Regions from separate parts of the Homo sapiens genome. Here regions 1 and 3 are each linked to region 2. Evidence: promoter capture Hi-C in human tissues and cell types (Jung and others, 2019). All regions are on one chromosome and are shown on one strand. The core of a region is centred on a gene start or on the middle of the fragment in contact, and the rest is flanking DNA. Distances in the headings are between cores, read along the strand shown. Region 1 holds the start of NGDN (neuroguidin). Region 2 holds the start of PSME2 (proteasome activator subunit 2). Region 3 has its middle 15 kb from the start of DHRS2.

What was found. The method cuts DNA at HindIII sites, captures the fragments that hold promoters and counts their contacts. A contact is called where the count stands out against the background at its distance.
Region 1: the fragment with the promoter of NGDN here is called in contact with the fragment with the promoter of PSME2 in region 2 in 1 of the 25 tissues and cell types used here (dorsolateral prefrontal cortex).
Region 3: a fragment that was not itself captured here is called in contact with the fragment with the promoter of PSME2 in region 2 in 1 of the 25 tissues and cell types used here (dorsolateral prefrontal cortex).

What each region holds. Positions count from the first base shown.
Region 1 is chr14:23,468,111-23,471,149 of GRCh38, forward strand. It overlaps NGDN (neuroguidin), which reads left to right and starts at 1,593. Exons shown (of 11, transcript NM_001042635.2): 1 at 1,593-1,617; 2 at 1,932-1,991; 3 at 2,796-2,867. The coding sequence starts at 1,606. RefSeq lists a silencer at 1,220-1,269 and an enhancer at 1,356-2,296. The HindIII fragment of the contact is 24,550 bases long and covers 1-3,039 here.
Region 2 is chr14:24,144,755-24,147,861 of GRCh38, forward strand. It overlaps PSME2 (proteasome activator subunit 2), which reads right to left and starts at 1,856. Exons shown (of 11, transcript NM_002818.3): 1 at 1,780-1,856; 2 at 1,454-1,486; 3 at 956-1,018; 4 at 625-711; 5 at 489-519; 6 at 304-401. The coding sequence starts at 1,827. It overlaps RNF31 (ring finger protein 31), which reads left to right and starts at 2,744. Exons shown (of 21, transcript NM_017999.5): 1 at 2,744-3,107. The coding sequence starts at 2,945. RefSeq lists silencers at 1,902-1,961, 2,662-2,751, 2,782-3,011 and enhancers at 2,272-2,341, 2,479-2,979, 2,526-2,820. The HindIII fragment of the contact is 10,846 bases long and covers 499-3,107 here.
Region 3 is chr14:23,619,442-23,622,325 of GRCh38, forward strand. No RefSeq gene overlaps it. Among named protein-coding and RNA genes, the nearest start is that of DHRS2, 15 kb to the right of the region's middle. The HindIII fragment of the contact is 4,229 bases long and covers 1-2,884 here.

The DNA of each region.
Region 1 (3,039 bases), core at 343-2,842, 680 kb before region 2:
TGGTGGCAAGTGCCTGTAGTCCCAGCTACTCGGGAGGGCGAGACAGGAGAATCGCTTGAACCCGGGAGGCGGAGGTTGCAGTGAGCCGAGATCGCGCCACTGCACTCCAGCTTGGGCAACAGAGCGAGACTCGGTCTCAAAAAAACCCAAAATATGGCAGTGCAATTTGTTTTCTCATTGCTATCATAAAGCATATGAACAAACTAAATTTCAAATTCCCCGAAAAGGAAAAGTTTATTGCTGATCTAATTAGACAGGTCCGAAAATTTATGTAGAAATAGAAACTTTTCATAATACAAATCTTGATAAAACATTACAAAAGCTACTGGATAATTGACTAAGTATGCTGCAACAGCATCCTGAGCTTCCACAGTGGGCCTGAAGCAGCAAATTAAATGTTAGAGGAGTGGGGACTGAACACCCTCCTGCCTTCTTGAATCCAGCAAGATCTAGATACCAGGATTTCCTTACCTCACCTGCCCAGATACAGGTGTTATTCTTAATTCCAAAAGACAGCTTCAAGTCGGTAAGATCTGATTTCTAGACCCAGCTCTGTTGGACGAGTTGTGAACAAAAAATTATACACTATCATTCACCCTTTCGGTGCTTTATTTCCTAAGGCATGGGATGGGAACAATGAGTATCCGTCCAACCTACTTCACCAGCTTGTGAAAAACCAGAGTGAGAGAACACATCTGAAAGCACTGGGTAATGATGAGGCAGGTTATACTGAAACATGCACTGCCAGAGTTTGAACCAAGTTCTGCTGAAGACCTGTGTGACCGCGGTAAGTCATGTAAATATGAACCGTTCCCCAATTTGTAAAACGTATTCTTTTCATGTCCCCAAACTGGTAGGAGCGAAGAGTGTCGGGGCGTTATTGGAGCCGTTTCTCAGCGCTCCACAGTGCACACCAAGAGGGCAGGTGTCCTCGCACTCGGTTTCTAAACTCTGGCTCTGGGCTTCTCTAGCCTCGCTCTCTTATTTACAGATGAAGAAGGCTCAGAGACCGAGTGACTTGTCCACGGTCACACAAGGAGTAGTGTTACAGAATCGATTCCAGGGCCACCGGGTCTGTAAGGCATTTGGCGCGGTGGCCGTTGGATGAGCAGCCAGCAATGGCGGCTCTGCAATGTCGACACCGCAAAGCCAAGCCAAGGCCCATCACCTAGCGGCCGGTTCACGCACTACAAGAAAAGTGCCGTGAAAAAAGACTCTGGGTGCTGCGGCAGACGGGAGCCAATACGCGCTAAGTTCGCTCTGCTAATTCCTTTTTTCTATTGGTCCTTCCAACTGTCAATCAATTATTTGACTGTCTCTTATTGGCTTGCCGTCAATCATTTTACTCAGTCTACCAATCACACGCTCTTTGCCAAGTGCTTTTTTTCGTCCTGACGACTCTTTCTGAGTCTGACGAATTTAGCCAGTTCCTTTATTCCATTGGCCAGATCAGACTCCTCCTCTCGTTTATCCTGTTGGGGGCGGAAGTGAGAAAGCCCTTATTCGTATTGGCTTAGATTTGCAAGCGGCAGTTGTCTATCAAATCTATCAAGTCGCCCTTAGCGCTCAGGAAGTACGACACCGGAAGGGGTGGGCTTTGCGAAGATGGCGGCGCTGGTGAGTTTGGTGTGGTTTCTTCCTCGCGTAGCTATTGTGGAGTTGTCCTTTGCCTTCAGCGGCTGGAGGCAAACTGTTGGTACCAGGGAAGGGTGGTGATGAAAGTTGCTTCAGGGAGGCGGCCTCCCTAGAGTTACCGTTCCTGTCCGGTAACCCAAGGGGCTGGCTTTAAGGCGAGTCTGTGAACCCGAGTGTGAAGGCCCCGAGTCTGGGTGTCTGACGGAGAGAGGGCAGTTTCCCACCCTAGACGTTCCACTTTCCTATAATCCTGAGGAAAGAATGACTTTTCTTTACGCCTCCTCTCCCTTCTGTAGGGGGTGCTGGAGTCCGACCTGCCAAGTGCCGTGACACTTCTGAAAAATCTCCAGGAGCAAGTGAGTAGTGTCGCCTCTGGAATAAATTAGTCACGGATTGGCTTTGAGTTTGTGTACTTCACCTCAAAACTTTGGTGATTGAGATACGTGAATGCTTCCAAAAACCTTAGAGTAAAATGATGTAATCAAAACCTTTTCACGCCAGAATTCTAAGTAATTGATTCTGCACCCAAGGGAATACAAGAAACTCCAAAAAGAAATTATATGAATAGTTTTCCTTTATTCATATAGCTAAGGAAACCAGTGCTTGGAATGGTAACATGACTTGCCCTTTGGGTGCCCAGGTAATACACACTTATATACAGATGCTTCTCGACTTAACGATGGAGGTTATGGCCTGATAAACCCATTGTAATTCGAAAACCTCATAAGTCGAAATTTAGGCTTGATGCCGCTGCCCAGCATCACGAGAAAAGGACGGTTTCTACCGAATGCATATTTCTTTTACACCCTCGTAAAGTGGAAATTAAGTCATAAGTCGGGGAGTTATGTAGTTCTATGCATTGTAAGTTCAACTAGTACAAACAAAATTACAGTGCTTCAGTCACTACTCTCTCAGTCCTTTTCTCCTCCCTGTGGTTCAGTAAAAGATGGTCTCTTCTTTAAGAAGTGGAAAGTTTTTTTTTTTTTAAACTTTTTGAAGAACCATCTCTCCTATGCTTTCCGAGAAGTGAGAAGATAGTACTATACTTTAGACAGTGTTTCAGATAATTTTTAGGTGGCATTGTTTAGCTTTTGCTCTTCACAGTTTGCAGACATAATTTGATATAATCTAATCACTTGTTTTATTTGGGCTAATTTCAGGTGATGGCTGTAACTGCACAAGTGAAATCACTGACACAAAAAGTTCAAGCTGGTGCCTATCCTACAGAAAAGGTAAGATGTACTCAAACAGTAAGCATCCCCTGACTTAATGTTCTCAGTAGTTCTTTCATTGTATGTTTATTGTGTCTTATATATCCTAAGTGCTCGAGCTTCAAACATAAATATGATCCAGTTTCTGTGCTGAAGTCTAGAGGGAAGACAAAGCAAAGCAATAGATGTAAGT
Region 2 (3,107 bases), core at 606-3,105:
TAGGGTCCAATCTTTTAAAACAATTCACTCACTATATCATACCACCTCTACTATGAACCCAATACAGCAGTAGGTTCTGAGGTTACAGAGTGGATACTGCACAGTCTCTAATTTTGGGGGTACCGTTGTGATAAGAGAGGTCTAACAGAACGAGGAGAACAAAGGGGATCTAAGCCCAAGGCACAGAAGGAAGTTTTCTTTTTCAGGACTAGGTCTCTGTATGAAGGACTTGTATCTACGGAGGAGTCCAGGGCCTCACCTTGTGTGTCTTCTCTTTCTGCTTCCCCCATTTCCCAGGCTTACCAGAATGCATTTCTCTTTGAGAGTCCAGACTTCTGGCTTAACCAGGGCAAGCAGGGACAGGACTTTCTCATTCCCAGGGAGAAATCCACACTTATGGACTGTGAGAAAGAGGGGATTCAGGCCCTTTCTCATCCAGTAGTCAGTGTGCCATCACCCCTTCCCTAGTCACCTCTTATCTCTCTTACCTTCTTTCTTCTCCTGCTTATCTGTTTCCATCTAAGGCAAAAAGGGGGGAAAGTAGCTTTAGAAAAGTCACAGAGGTTGAAGGGCTATCTTCTCCATTGGGTTTATAGTCCAAGTCCTGCACCCTGAGTGCCTCACCTCATCATCCTTGGGTGGAGGGTCTGGGATGGGGATGTCCAGTGGGGCCCGGAGGGAAGTCAAGTCAGCCACATTGAGGGAGTCCTCCTGCACAGAGCTCACTGTCAAGGGCTGCCCAACCTCTTCCCTTCATCCTAGGTCACAGCCTTCCCTCCATACATCCCACTTGCACTCTGCCTCCCAACCTAGGCTCATGCCTCACGCCATCCTAATGTTCCTAATCCACTATTTGAAACTATTCTCTGCATGCTGAATCCAGTTGTTAGCTAGAGAGGGTGGGCAAAGGGGATAGAGGACATAGGATGGGGCAGAAGGGGCCCACACTACTCACTTGCAAGAGCTGATTCAGGTATATGATTTTCTGTGGCAAGAATCTGTAGAGGAATTCCTCAGCCTGTGGGTTACATTGCAAGGGAGGGGAATCACAGAATATGCTCAATGAGATGTCTGACAAATGGAACTGGAAGGGCCTTTGGAAATCACTGGGTCCAAGACTTGCAAATGAGGAAACTGAAGACCTGAAAATGAAAGGACTTGCCCAAGCTGGTAAATGGCAGAACGAAGGTTAGGACTGTGATATTCCTGCTTTGGAAGCCATGGTTTTTTTCCTCCACATCAAAAGACGGGAGAAGTGCCAGAAGTCGGGAGAGTCATAAGAAAGGTCAGATTAAAGGTAGCTATCAATAATTCCGGGGTTACTTTGGGTGAAGGCTTGGTAAGGGAAGTAGGGTTAAGTCTAGGGTGACTTGGGGGGGTCATTCTGAGAGGCTGTTATCCTCAAGTATTGGTCCAAGATTCTGGGTCAAATCGCTCAAATCCAGAGACTTACCTCCTGGAAAAGATTCTGTCTGAAGACCTCCACCTACACAGAGAGCAGTACCCGGATGTTGGTTAAGGGTCTGGGTTGTCAAAAGCTTCCACCCACAACAGGGTGCCCTCGAACTGTGGCTCAGGCCTTTCTCACCACAAACTAGCTTTCCCTGGAAGCTCCTGCTCACTGCAGTCAGAAGGCAGGAATCTGGGAATCCCCGAGAAGTGAAGGCACTAGCGAGATTGGGGGAGTTCTCTGGCACTGCTTGGTCCCCTGAACCACCCAGCTTGGCCTCCACCCAAGAGGGTTCTATGACCCCTTCCTGGCCTCCGATTCCCCATTACCTGTTTGCGGGCTTCCCCGCTCAGGCGCACCCCACACGGCTTGGCCATGCTGCTTCAGTCGCTAGATCTCTGGTCTCCCGGCTAGTCGCCCGGGCTTTCGCTTTCACTCCCCAGGTCCAGGCCCGCCCCCCTCAACCCCGCCCCCTTTCTTCTTTCCGCCCCCCTCCTCCCGCTGGCAGGCCGCAAGCAGTAGGTAGCCCCTCAGCCATTCCCAGCCAGTTGCCACTAGGAGAGGCGGTGCTGGCTGGGTCACAGTCCAGGGGCTGCCCGAGGGAGGGGCTAGGGTAAGTGGGACCGCGGAGACTGGAGCGGGGGCTGTCCCTCGGAGAGGGGCGGGGCTTATAGCTAGGGCCAACTGGAAGTCCAGGGTTGGGGTAAGAGAGGTGGGAGTATGGCAAAGGGGGTATTCAGTGGCGGGGCTCCCCCAAGAAGGCTCGACCGCAAGTAGCGGACGGAGAGAGATCAGAGCGAGTGGGAGGGGCAGCCAGAGGGAGCGCCTGGGGTGGAGAAGGACTAGCAGCTCTTAGAAGAGAGCGGGCAGGGGTTGGGTGAGGGTCTTCCCTCTGCCTTCAGGACAGACCGGAGATGGGGCGGGACTCGCTCGAGAGGGGTTAGGGCCGGCCAGAGTCGGTTCCCCTGCAGGGTGGGACTTCCTCGGTGAGGCCCGGAGCGTACCGGACTGGTCCAGCTAGAAAAAGAAAGGTTTTGAGCTGAATAGGATAACCCCGCGCCTGCGGCTATCCGGAAGGGGTGGAACCAGATTGGGGGAAGGCGGGGAAGAGCGCTTGACTGAGGGAAGATGCTGGCGCGCTCTGAGGGAGGAGCCAGGAGCCATTTGCCTTCTCATTGGTTGGGACCTGGCCCTCCCTCTTGGCCGCGCCCCCTGGTTTCCTGACACCGCTCCAACCTTAACCTTAAGCCCCGCCCGTTCCTCCGAAATTGGGTCGCAGTCCCACCCTCTCTCCTAGTACTTCCTGTTCTCGGCTAACCCTGGCGCTGGGCCGGGGGCTGGAGAGTGACCGTGGTCTGAGTGACCTGGGGCGGCTGCGTGGGCCGGGGTGGGCCTCAAAGCCGGGCACCAGACGGGAGGGGCGGCGCTCGGGCCGCGCGCTGCCCGCGCCGGGTCCTGGCGGGCGGCGAGGCTGGGGCTGACTCCTGCCTCAGGATGCCGGGGGAGGAAGAGGAGCGGGCCTTCCTGGTGGCCCGCGAGGAGCTGGCGAGCGCCCTGAGGAGGGATTCCGGGCAGGCGTTTTCCCTGGAGCAGCTCCGGCCGCTACTAGCCAGCTCTCTGCCGCTAGCCGCCCGCTACCTGCAGCTGGACGCCGCAC
Region 3 (2,884 bases), core at 233-2,732, 530 kb before region 2:
ATATCTAGGCTTAGGGGAGGCTGAGAAAGGTCACCACTGGAGAAGTAAGCGGTTGGGGCAGGTCAGGATCCAGGGCTCTCAATTCTTATGGAGAGATTTTGCTTTTTTAAAACATCAGACCTGCTGGTGTTTGCACTCAGTTTTCTTTCTTATAAAAATCAACTCTATTGAGATGTACTGCCCAATCAAGATATAGAACATTTGCATCACCCTAGAAAACTTCCTTGTGCCCCAAATCACATCACTGATGTGATTTCTATCACTATAGCTGAGTTTTGTCTATCCTAGAACTTTGTGTAAATTGTCCTTTTCTTTTGACTTTATGTAGTTTTTTTCTCATGTGGAAGAAAAAGAATTATTGTAGGTTTATGGTTTTTAAAAAATATTCAAATCGGATTCATCTGACATTTATTTTGGTGTAGTGTGTGAAAGGCACAGATCTAATCTCATTTATTTTCTCCCAGAGAGCTACCTGGTTGTTTCAACATCATTTATTGACAAATGTATCTTTTTTCTCACTGGTTTAAATGCCACCTTTATCATACATTAAATTCCCAAGTGTGCTCAGGTATATTTCTGGACCGTCCGTTCTTTTCCTTTGATGTGTTTATTCATGTCTCAATACAATACTCTTTTAATTATGGTTGGTTTATTTTTAAAATGTCTCATATTTTAGAATTTTCTGCTCTATCTCTTCAATGGGTTACTTCTCACCAAGGTTCCCATATTAGTTATCTATTGCTGCATAACAAATTATCCTAAAACTCAGCAGCTTGAAAATGTGTTATCTCACACTTTCTGAGAGTCAGGAACCTGAGAGCACTGTAGCTGGGTAGTTCTGGCTTAGGATCTCTCAAGAGGTTGTGGCTATGCTGTCAGCAGGGCTGCAGTTGTCTCAAGACTTGACTGGGGCTAAGAGATTCGCTTCCAGGCTCACTCACATGATTGAGCAAATAGGCCTTAGTTCCTCACTGGTCTCAGTTCCTCGCTGGCTGTTGGCTGGAGGACTCAGGTCTTTACCACATGGGTTTGCAATAGGGATGCTCCCAATATGGCAGCCAGAGTGCTGAGAGAGAGAGAGAGGAGAGAGAGAGCAAGCCCAAGACAGAACACTCTGTTTTTTACAGCCTAACCTTGGAAGTGATGGACCATTACCTCTGGCAACTCTGGTGTGGTGTGAGAAACTTATGTGGGTGCGAGTACCAGTGGGCAGGGATCATAGTGGCCATCTAGAGGCTGGCTCCCACAGTTCCAATCCTGGCTCTCTTCTCTTTTCACTTTCTTCACGCTCCTGGGAGCTCTATTCCATTTGATGAGGCTGCTTCTACCTATGACCAATAATCCCCAAATAATTATCCTTATCGCTAACTCAGTCTTGAACTCTGGAACTATTTCCAATTGCAGGGATACCTCCTCTGAAATATCCCATAGTGATCTCCATGCCTTTAATGATGCTTTCCTGGGGAACCGTCTGAACCTTAGACCTACTTCTATTTTGACATGTATCCCTGCGTTGCATTTATCTGATTCCTCCATTAGACTATAAGCTGATTTTTATTTATTTATTTCTGTAAGCTTATTGAGGGTAGGGACTATGTTTTCATTATTTTTTTGTGTTTGCAGTACTTGGTGCCTAGCATGAAGTGGGGTCTGGAGCCTGCTTGAGTTTGGGGCTGTGGACTCATGGGTCCATCTGTTTCCATTGTGTGACAGCATCTCTGGAGACAGCCAGACTGGCAAGAATGGGTCCTCAAACTGTGCTTTGTACTTTTTTTTCTTCTTTTCCTTTCCCTCTTCCTCCTCCCAGTCTCAAGAGGTAACTTTGAGACAAACTGCATATATGTTACCTTTCATCTCGAAATAACAATCTCAGAATGTGCTGTGAACCTCCACTCCCTTTCTTTCCCATGCTATGCTCCCATGCCTTATGTATAGTTATTTACCTAAAGGCTTGTTAAGCACAAACCATGTTCTCTTATCTGCAATATATTTCCTTAGAAGCTTTGTTGCAGTAGGTAGTCAGGCAGACATGAGCAGGGCAGGAGAGAGCTCCCCACCACACACCAGGAATACCAGTTGTTATGCTGTTTCTCTAAAATAATAATTGGCCACAGCTGGTGCCAGGGAACGGCCATCTCCCAATACATAGAAACACCTGAAGCTGGTGATCAGCAGCTTCCAGATAAGATCTCAGGAGTTGGGTGAGTGGGCTCAAGCATGCACATCAAGAGGTAAAATGGCTGAGTTTAACTGGTATATGACCACCTTCTAGGAATACTCGACTGGTAAGGGAAGAATGCTTAAAGTGAGCATGCGTACAACTCCAGTAAACACACTGCACATGAAGTCCCTGTCAGGTGCTGGCAGGCCATTGCACATGCAGAATGCCAATATGTAAGAACTCAAGTCCAAGGTCAGACCTGGCACTCGATCTCTCAAGTTGCTTGCTTGGCCCTCTTTCTAGCATACTTTACTTCCTTTCGTTCCTGCTCTAAAGCTTTTTAATAACTTTTCACACCTGCTTCAACACTTGCCTGGGTCTCTCACTCTGCCTTATGTCCTTCAGTTGAATTTTTTCTCCTGAGGAAGCAAGAATTGAGGTTGCTGCAGACCTGTACGGACTCACTGCTGCTAACATACTTTAGTGCCATGTGGCTCGGATACATTCCCTAGTGGTAAGAGATCTCTACCTCTCACCTTCTTCAGCTGGAGGTGTTCAACCCCTGTACACAGTTTCCTTCTGTCTTTTCACTCTCCTGCCTACTAACCAACCCTCAGAATGATTCCTGTCAGCCACAGAGGCTCTGCTACCCCAGGCTGACCTCTCAGTTCACCCTGACCGATGGGTTGAGGGGGTAGGAAGGACCTTGGAGTCTGCATTGAG